3 separate regions of the Homo sapiens genome follow, and regions 2 and 3 are each linked to region 1. The links are contacts of gene promoters, found by promoter capture Hi-C in blood cells and fetal thymus (Javierre and others, 2016). All regions are on one chromosome and are shown on one strand. The core of a region is centred on a gene start or on the middle of the fragment in contact, and the rest is flanking DNA. Distances in the headings are between cores, read along the strand shown. Region 1 holds the start of ASPSCR1 (ASPSCR1 tether for SLC2A4, UBX domain containing). Region 2 holds the start of MRPL12 (mitochondrial ribosomal protein L12). Region 3 overlaps HEXD (hexosaminidase D).

Evidence for each region. Contacts are between HindIII fragments. The CHiCAGO score rates a contact against its expected background, and 5 or more counts as called.
Region 2: the fragment with the promoter of MRPL12 here is called in contact with the fragment with the promoter of ASPSCR1 in region 1 in 12 of 17 cell types (erythroblasts, endothelial precursors, M0 macrophages and 9 more); the score reaches 13.4 in erythroblasts.
Region 3: a contact is called between a fragment that was not itself captured here and the fragment with the promoter of ASPSCR1 in region 1, in 1 of 17 cell types (non-activated CD4 T cells). The highest score is 6.1, in non-activated CD4 T cells.

Annotation. Positions count from the first base shown.
Region 1 is chr17:81,975,534-81,978,878 of GRCh38, forward strand. It overlaps ASPSCR1 (ASPSCR1 tether for SLC2A4, UBX domain containing), which reads left to right and starts at 2,096. Exons shown (of 16, transcript NM_024083.4): 1 at 2,096-2,215. The coding sequence starts at 2,114. It overlaps LOC105371939 (a long non-coding RNA gene), which reads right to left and starts at 1,952. Exons shown (of 2, transcript XR_933953.4): 1 at 1,835-1,952; 2 at 435-1,424. LOC124904087 (a long non-coding RNA gene) reads left to right here. Exons shown (of 2, transcript XR_007065951.1): 2 at 578-802. RefSeq lists enhancers at 708-1,481, 1,482-2,253 and a silencer at 1,732-2,591. The HindIII fragment of the contact is 4,025 bases long and covers 386-3,345 here.
Region 2 is chr17:81,701,917-81,704,616 of GRCh38, forward strand. MRPL12 (mitochondrial ribosomal protein L12) reads left to right here and starts at 1,451. Exons shown (of 5, transcript NM_002949.4): 1 at 1,451-1,659; 2 at 2,328-2,514. The coding sequence starts at 1,586. It overlaps HGS (hepatocyte growth factor-regulated tyrosine kinase substrate), which reads left to right. Exons shown (of 22, transcript NM_004712.5): 22 at 1-205. RefSeq lists enhancers at 331-934, 879-948, 935-1,538 and a silencer at 1,439-1,818. The HindIII fragment of the contact is 11,363 bases long and covers 699-2,700 here.
Region 3 is chr17:82,422,241-82,425,660 of GRCh38, forward strand. It overlaps HEXD (hexosaminidase D), which reads left to right. Exons shown (of 13, transcript NM_001330542.2): 3 at 2,154-2,263. It overlaps HEXD-IT1 (HEXD intronic transcript 1), which reads left to right and starts at 3,085. Exons shown (of 1, transcript NR_170223.1): 1 at 3,085-3,420. RefSeq lists an enhancer at 1,743-2,578. The HindIII fragment of the contact is 7,971 bases long and covers 1-3,420 here.

The DNA.
Region 1 (3,345 bases), core at 846-3,345:
ATCTCCCAGGTTCAAGTGATTCTCCTACCTCAGTGTCCCGAATAGCTGGGATTACAGGCACGCACCGCCATGCCCGGCTAATTTTTGTACTTTTTTTTTAAGTAGAGACAGGATTTCACCATGTTGGCCAAGATGGTCTCAATCTCTTGACCTTGTGATCTGCCCAACTCAGCCTCCCAAAGTGCTGGGATTACAGGCGTGAGCCACCGCGCCTGGCCATATTTAATTTTTTTTTTTTTTTTTTTTTTGAGACAGAGTCTTGCTCCGTCTCCCAGGCTGGAGTACAGTGGCGTGATCTCAGCTCACTGCGAGCTCTGCCTCCCGGATTCACGCCATTCTCCTGCCTCAGCCTCCCAAATATTTAATAACTTTTTAAAGAAGGGGAAGCTTGACCGAAAGTGACTATAAATGTAGAAGAAACAATAAACTTGGGAAGCCATGATTTTGCAGCTTTACGGTTTAACACTGAATCTACTCATTAACTGATGCTAAAACTGTTGGGCAAATGGTTATTGGGAAAACTTGATGCTTGTGGTCTCAGAGAATGACCTCACGCATGCCTTAATTACTCCACAAGGAGCCACGGACCTTGACCATGGAGGAATTCAGCAGACCCAAAGCTGACCAAGTGGTTCAACTTCACGTCCTCACTCATGGCCACGCTGATGTCCTGCACCTCCTGCTGACTTGTCACCTCCCTTCATCATTGCCCCAAACGTTTAACCAAGGATCCAGACTGTGGGACAGTCTAAGGAAAATAGGAACAGACTCTTCAAAAACGCCACTAAAGAATTAAAACCCACCAGGTGATGTGTGGCTCAGTAAGGTTCTGAGGTTGCACAGAGCATGGGACTGGCTGGCTGGATGGGAGGGCTATGGCTAGCCTGGGGCTTTCCCCAGGTTTCTCCAATGTACATAGATGTCCGTGTTTGTCAGCATACAGGTGTGTGTGGGTGACATGGATATGTCATCGACAGGAAGGCACAACAGCACCCATGCAGAGATGTCCTTAGACTCAGCAATGACTGCCGGGTGCGGTGGCTCACGTGTGTAATCCCAGCCCTGTGGGAGGATTGACTGATAACTGCACCAGTTCCCCCTTCCACAGGCTACTGGGCAGCTGAGCCCTAGCCAGGAGTCCGCAGAGACAGGCAGGCACATGGAGAGAGGAGTGCCAAGGCCCGGCTGAGCCATGGAGGTGGGGGGCGGGGCGGAACACGTGCGAGTGCTGTCCATGAGTGGCCCAGGTGCTGGGAGCTAAGCACATTCGACGGCTGCGAGTCAGGAGGGCAGCTCCTTCTGGAAGCCTGGAGCTGGTGAGGCCAGGTGCTTTCCCTGCTGCGGTGGCTGGCGATGGGAGTGTTTCCTGAGGCTGCCACCAAGCCCCTCCTCAGCATGGGTTGGTGCGGGAAGTCCTTGAGTGCCTGTGGGTCGGCAGGAGCTCCGGTGAGACTCAAGTTCGCTCACCCCACGGTTCTGAAACCGGTCTCCCGCCTTTCCTACCCTCAGGTTTAGGGACCGTCGCGGCAGCCCTAGGGCTGCCAGATTCTGCACTCCCATTTTAGGATGAAAGAAATCAGGTCTAGACTGAGGGCCACGAGTCCCAACACCCAGGGAGGATCCGTACAGGGGCGGGGGGACTGCCCCAAACCATAAGGTCAGGAGGTGGACGCTGACCACAGGGACAGGTGGGCAGGGAAGAGGCTCAGCTGCTGGAGTGGAGGAAGCCGGGAGGGTCGGGGGAGAGCAGGGCACCGAGCTGGGGACGTGTCAGGGACGAAGCGAGGGTGGGCGAGCGCGGACCGCTGGGACCCCGGGGCTCAGTGCCGCTCACCGGGGGTGACCGCGCGCCCAGCCCCGGCCCAGCCTGGCCCCGGCGAGCCCATCCAAGCCGCGCTTCCCGGAGGCAGAGGACGACCGCGCTTTCCGGGTCTGGCGCGGGCTTTGGCGGCCCAAGGGCGGGGCCGGGGCGCCGTGGGTGGGGAAAGGGCGGGGCCTGGCAGGACCCGGAAGTGCGCTGCGGCCCCGCCCCCTGGCCGCGTGGCTGCGCGTCCTGGCTGTTGCCGATAAAGTTGTTTGACGCCGGCCCGGCGGCGGGTCACGTGAGCGGAAAATGGCGGCCCCGGCAGGCGGCGGAGGCTCCGCGGTGTCGGTGCTGGCCCCGAACGGCCGGCGCCACACGGTGAAGGTGACGCCGAGCACCGTGCTGCTTCAGGTGCGGCCGCCCGCCCGGGGCGGACGGGTAGGCGGGCGGGGGGCGCTGCGCCGAGGCCCCGCCCATTGCGGTCGGCGTCCCGGTGTTCGGGGGCGGGGCCTCGGCGGCCAATGAGCGGCCTCCTGAGCGGCGGCCCCGCCCCCTGCTCGCCGTCACCTGCGCTTCCGCTGGGGTCCCGGGGGTCCCGGGGGTCCCGAGTGGGGGCGGGGCGGTGGCGAGCCTTCCCAGGGGTGAGGTAGAACGGCGCCGCGTGTCACCCGCATCGAGTACTCGGCGCCCGGCCGAGCCCAGCTCGCGAGGGCGCCGGGAAGAGGGAGGAGTGGAGCCCTAGACCCGCGTTCCCATTCCGGGGCGTCCCCCGGAGCGGGAGCCCGGGTTGCGCGGTGGCAGATGTCCCGGCCGTGGGGCCTGGAAGCGATTTTTGCCGAGTCACTCACTGCACTTTTACTTGGGCACCTTGTGACCGCGAATCAATTAAATGTAAAAGTATTGGCTGGGCGCGGTGGCTCACGCCTGTAAATCCCAGCACTGTGGGATGCCGAGGCGGGTGGATCACGAGGTCAAGAGATCAAGACCATCCTGGCTAAAACGGTGAAACCCCGTCTGTACTAAAAAAATACAAAAAAATTTAGCCGGGCGTGGTGGCGGGCGCCTGTAGTCCCAGCTACTCGGGAGGCTGAGGCAGGAGAATGGCGTGAACCTGGGAGGCAGAGCTTGCAGTGAGCCGAGATCGCGCTACTGCACTCCAGCCTGGGAGACAGAGCGAGACTCCATATCAAAAAAAAAAAAAAAAAGTATTTATTGAGCCTCTGCTGCGTGGGGGACCGTGAGGATCCGAAGGTGCACACGACTCGGAGTTTGCGGGAGCAGCCCACGGCGTGGGGTCCCCAGGCCTGGGCAGGTGGAGGGCGCAGCCAGGAGGCTGTTGGTGCCAGGCGTGCAGAGTGCGGAAGTGGGGCGCTCCCGCAGAGGCTGCGCGGGACCCCTTGGTGCAAGGCCACGGCTTTGGCTTTTTATGGAGAAGAGGGGCGGAGGCGGTGCAGGCAGTGGCAGCAGGTGCACAGAACCGTGCCAGAGCCAGGGGGTAGCTTGTGCTAGGCAAGTTTAAGGCAGGTTGCAGAACTACAGGG
Region 2 (2,700 bases), core at 201-2,700, 270 kb before region 1:
CACCCCCCAAGCAGCCTGTGCCCTCTGGCCGCACTGTGAGCTGGCTGTGGTGTCTGGGTGTGGCCTGGGGCTCCCTCTGCAGGGGCCTCTCTCGGCAGCCACAGCCAAGGGTGGAGGCTTCAGGTCTCCAGCTTCTCTGCTTCTCAGCTGCCATCTCCAGTGCCCCAGAATGGTACAGCGATAATAAAATGTATTTCAGAAAGCATCAGCGTTTTTTCTTTAATTAATTTTTTTGAGATGGAGTCTCACTCTGTCACCCAGGCTGGAGTGGTGATCTCCGCTCACTGCAAGCTCCGCCTCCTGGGTTCAAGCGATTCTCGGGCCTCAGCCTCCCGAGTAGCTGGACTACAGGTGCACCCCATTACCATGCCTGGCTAGTTTTTGTATTTTTAGTAGCGACGGTGTTTCACCATGTTGGCCAGGCTGGTCGTGAACGCCTAACCTCAGGTGATCCACCTGCCTCGGGCTCCTAAAGTGCTGGGATTACAGGCATGAGCCACCGCGCCCGACCTGCATCAACGTTTGCTCAGGGGGCAGGTGGTCAGGCTGATGGCCCAGCTGCAGGCAGGGTCATTTCCAGCCTGCCCCTCCCTGAGGCTGCGTGCCAGGGTTCATGTGTGCCCTCCGCGGCTCTGCACTGACCCCGCCGGTAGCTGGGGAGGAGTTTGGGCTTGGCGCCTCCTTCGTGTAGTGGCTGAAGCTTCCCGGGTGCTCCTCATTCCTGGGAAGGGAGTCGGGTGATGGGAACGGTGGGAGCTCAGCGCTCCGAGTCTGCGGCCGGGGGCCAGCGGGGCTGAAACGCGCCTCCTGAGTGTTGAAAGCGGCAGGCGCCGGCCTTTGCACCCAGAGGCCAGGGCGTCTCACTCACCTTCACATCCAGGCCTCTTAGGGGAGCGCGGCTTTGGCTTTTCCAGGAAGGAATGGACTCCAACGGACAGGGAAAGAAGAAGTGTGGAGAGACGGGCAGGATAAGCAGGCACTGGGCCCAAGCCGCCCTTGGAGGCTCTGCCTGTTCTGATCTGAAGGCGGAGGCTCAGCCGTGCTCTCCCAGGAAGCCACCTGGGCGTTTGGGGCTTTAGCTAGGAAAGAGGATGTCGCCTGCGGCTGCGAAGGCGCCAAAGCCCAGACCTCGCGCCTCCGCCCGCGACGGCGGCACTGGGGGCCCGGAGCGGGCGGGAGACGTGGATTACTGCGGGCTTCGGGGCCCTAGCCTCGACCGCGACGTTCGCTCGCATCGCGTACGGACAGAAACCCGTGAGCGCTGAAGAAAGAACACCTGAATCCGGAGCCCCAGCCCCCGTCGCTCGTTTGCGCGACCCCAAAACCTGGCGGGACGAGGGTCGCCCGATGTCTAGCTGCCGCCACAGACGACGCTTTTGCGTCTGCGCAGCGCGCCGCCTTGTGGGTAATCTCAGGGTGAGACGAGGCTAGCGCGAGGTACGGCTAGAGCGTCATTTCCGGCTCGAATGCCCGGCAGCCGTGGCGGCTAGAGCGTTCCTCCCCAGCTCGAATGCCCGGCGGCCGAGGCGGCTAGAGCGTCGCCTCCTCCCGGGGAACCGCGTGTGACCTTCCAGCCCGCGGACCGATGCTGCCGGCGGCCGCTCGCCCCCTGTGGGGGCCTTGCCTTGGGCTTCGGGCCGCTGCGTTCCGCCTTGCCAGGTACGCGGGATCCTGGGGCGGTCCGGGCCGGCAGGCGGGTTAGGGGGCAGCCGGGCACTGAGGGGTCGATCCGGGCGAGGAGGGCGGCGGGGCCGGCCTCCCTGCAGCGGCCAGGCCGGGCTTGGGGGTCCCATCGGGGGCGCGGGGAGGAGGCCTCCCGGTGCGCACGCCCCTTCCCTCCTGGGCCGTGGAAAGCGCCGGGGTCGGCCCCAGATGACCTTGGACGATTCCCTGCTCCTCCCTTGGCCTCAGCCTTTTCCGCAGCAAAGGCCCATCCGTGGGTGCGGCGTTTTGCGGCCAGGGGCCCCCATGTTTTGGGAGGCTTTGCGCAGGAAGATGCACCTAAGTAATAGTTTCGCCACCGCTGGGTTGATGTAGTTCATTCAAACCAGAAACTTGAGGTTTGAGTGGTATGGCTGCAAATAAACACGTGGCTTTCTAAGGCTCTTTGAAGAATTTAAAGTAACTTGCAAATCTTATCAATACGGACCCCTTGAGGTCTGAGAACCCTGGACTGGGACCAAGGAGCTAGGTAATTTCCGGCCCTAGTGATTACCAGCCTGAGCTTATGGCACCCACCAGTCCCCCAGTTGTCCTGCCCCTCTGGTTTCTGCAGCCCCTTCCATTCCAGGACTGACAAGTCTGTTTTAATTGGGGGTGGGGGCTAGGCGACAGGTGCCATGTGTCTGTGCCGTGCGACATATGAGGAGCAGCGGCCATCAGAGGTGTGAGGCCCTCGCTGGTGCACCCCTGGATAACGCCCCCAAGGAGTACCCCCCCAAGATACAGCAGCTGGTCCAGGACATCGCCAGCCTCACTCTCTTGGAAATCTCAGACCTCAACGAGCTCCTGAAGGTATCGTGAGAGGGTGGCACAGACCCAGGGGCTGGAAGTTTCAGGGCCCCTGTGTTTTGTTCCTGGTGTATTTTGGGAGTTTGGTAAATTGTCAAAAGTGTGTTTGTCCAGGTGCAAGGTCCATGCCAGGCTAGTTGCCCCTCCTCAGTAGGTTCCGGCTGGTGTGAGGGCCAGCTGTGGACACTG
Region 3 (3,420 bases), core at 203-2,702, 450 kb after region 1:
CCACCCAGCAGGAAACACTGTTCCATAATATTTCATAACAAGATAAAAGATACTCAGAAGATGACGGAAGCTGTGAAAGAACAGCATAAATCAGAAATAGAAAAGCCCAGGCCAGGCTCAGCGGCTCACAACTGTAATCCCACCTACTTGGGAGGCTGAGGCATGAGAATCACCTGAACCTGGGTGGTGGAGGTTGCAGTGAGCCAAGATCGTGCCACTGCACTCCAGCCTGGGCGATAGAGCAAGACTCAGTCTAAAAAAAAAAAAGCCCAGAAATGTGGTAATCAGACAAAAGGAGGTTGTAAAAAATTGCCTGTGGAGCTCAGAAATGAATTATAAGGAAAAAACAATGTTTTTAATGAAGACTAAACTATAAGAAGTGTACAAGTGAGTAGACACCATGGAAAGTGCAGTATTTGGAAACAGATGACAGAAAAGAAAAAAGCAAACAGAGATGAAAAGGCGTTCTGACAAATTGAATATGGCAAAGAAGACTGAACTTACATACAGCTGATGAAGAGGCATTTTGACTTGGGCCAGGCGCGGTGGCTCATGCCTATAATCCCAGCACTTTGGGAGGCTGAGGAGGGTGGATCACCTGAGGTCAGGAGTTCGAGACCAGCCTGACCAACATGGTGAAACCCTGTCTCTATTAAAAATACAAAAATTAGCCAGGCGTGGTGTCAGGTGCCTGTAATCTCAGCTACTCGGGAGACTGAGGCAGGAGAATTGCTTGAACCCGGGAGGCGGAGGTTGTGGTGAGCTGAGATCGTGCCACTGCACTCCATCCTGGGGGACAAGAGCAAAACTCCATCTCAAAAAAAAAAAGAAAGGAAAGGCGTTCTGACAATTGAATATAGGCAAAGAAGATCCAACTTACACACAGCTGGAGTCCCTGTTTCCATCATCTGTTGCTGCGTGACAGATCTCCCCAAACTTGAGGTCCCCATTCATCACCCCTTGTGTTTCTGTGGGTTGGCTGCGTGATTCTGCTTTTCTGACCGAGGTGCCCTCAGGTGGTCACAGCCCCGTAACATCTAGAAACCTCTGATGGTCCGCGTGGCCTTCCATGTCCGGCAGTTCATCCCAACTGTCAGCTGGGGCTCCTTAGTTCTCCTGCATGTGTGTCATCCAGGAGGCCTAGCATGTGCCTGTAGTCCCAGCTCCTTGGAAGGCTGAGGCTGGAGGATCACTTGAGCCCAGGAGTTGGGTGCTGCAGCGAGCCATGATCATGCCAGCACGCTCCAGCCTGGGCAACAGAGTGAGACCCCATCTGTTAAAAAAAAGAGAGAGGCCGGGCACAGTGGCTCACACCTGTAATCCCAGCATTTTGGAAGGCCGAGGGGCAGATTACCTGAGGTCAGGAGTTCGAGACCAGCCTGGCCAACATGGTGAAACCCCGTCTCTACTAAAAATACAAAAATTAGCTGGGCATCGGGGCGGGCGCCTGTAATCCCAGCTACTCGGGAGGCTGGGGCAGGAGAATCGCTTGAACCCGGGAGGCAGAGGTTGCAACGAGCCAAGATCACGCCACTCCACTCCAGCCTGGGCGAGAGAGCGAGACTCCATCTCAAAAAAAAAAAAAAAAGAGAGAAAGACAAGGAAGTGGGGAGGAGAATAAGGGGGAAGGGACCCCATGAGTACAGACCAGGAACGAATGAGTTCTGCACCCCTCTCTCACCTCCCCCAGGTGCTGACCCCAACCCTTCAGAGCCCTGCTCCCCCTGCCCCGGCTCCTCCTGCCCCGTCCCCCATGCCTTGCCATTCTCCTTCAGCCTGGCTGCCCTGTCCCCCATGCCTTGCTGGTGCCCCTCAGCCTGGCTGCCTTGCTGGGCCGCCGTGCATGAAGAGCTGCTTCTTGGTGGCTCCCTGCTGGCCGGACCCGTCCCTCCCAAGCTGAGCCACCAGCGCGTTGAGTAGCAGCCCTGTTTCATAGCATATCTCCCCTTCTGTGCAAAATAGTCACTGGAACGGGGAGTTTCATTTGGCATAACGTAAAGTACACATTCCGGATTTAAGGTTCCCAGGAGAAATAGAAGTAGCAACTCCCACAGTCTCCACAGGCTGAAAGGGAAGGCGTCTCCCTGCTGTGGACTTGCCACATCGTGCTCCAGCAGCCACTTCTTCCTAACCCCTCCCTGTTTACCCCCCAGATTTTTCCTCTGTTCCGTGCGCTAGGTGCAAACGGCCTCCTCATTGAGTATGAAGACATGTTTCCCTACGAGGGCCCTCTGAGGCTGCTGAGGGCCAAGTACGCCTACAGGTAACACTGCCCGTGGCAGGTACAGGGGCGCGGCGTGAAAGCGGGGAAGGGGGGGTTCCGCAGGGCAGGAGGAGCAGCAACCTGGAGGTGCGGGTGGCACAGTCAGGAACTGAACAGTGGTGGGTACATTCCTTTTTTGTCTTTTTAAATTCATCTCTTTAATTGTATGAAAACAAAGTTTCATTTCAAACATTCACTGGAGAGAATTTTGAAACATTTAAAGGGAAAGTAAGCATCAGCAGCGCCCCCTACAGGGAAGAGCTGCAGTTCCTGTCTCTGTCCTGCAGGCGTTTCTTCTGTTGATGGGAGAAGGCTGGACTACAGAAGGTTAGAGAAGGTTAGAGAAGGTTAGAGAAGGCCAGAGAAGGAAGGCCAGAGAAGGCTGGGCTAGAGAAGGCTAGAGAAAGCTGGAGAAGGCTAGAGAAGGCTGGAGAAGGCTGGAGAAGGCTGGACTACAGAAGGTTAGAGAAGGCCAGAGAAGGCTGGGCTAGAGAAGGCCGGAGAAGGCTGGAGGAGGCTAGAGAAGGCTGGAGGAGGCTGGAGGAGGCCAGAGAAGGCTGGAGAAGGCTGGAGAAGGCTGGAGGAGGCTGGGCTAGAGAAGGCCGGAGGAGGCTGGAGGAGGCCAGAGAAGGCTGGAGAAGGCTGGAGGAGGCTAGAGAAGGCTGGAGGAGGCTGGAGGAGGCCGGAGAAGGCTGGAGGAGGCTGGAGGAGGCTGGGCTAGAGAAGGCCGGAGGAGGCTAGAGAAGGCTGGAGAAGGCTGGAGAAGGCTGGGCTAGAGGTTAGAGAAGGCTAGATAAGGTTAGAGAAGGCCAGAGAAGGCTGGGCTAGAGAAGGCTGGAGGAGGCCAGGGAAGGTCAGAGGAGGCTGGAGAAGGCTGGAGGAGGCTGTAGAAGGCTGAGCTAGAGAAGGCTGGAGGATGCTGGAGGAGGCCTCCGCGCAGGGAGGGGCTGCTCTTCAGGCCACAGTTGAGCCTTGAGTTAGAGAAGAGAAGAATTAAAGGGGAGAGAATCAAAATCAATAAAATCAGGTGTGGTGGAGATGGGAGGCCCCTGCTTAATGCTAAAATCACAGGTCTCTGTGAAAATCAATAACGGCCCCAAAGATAAATGCACAATGGACATTAACTGGCCAATCCCAAAGGAAGAAACAAAAAAGGC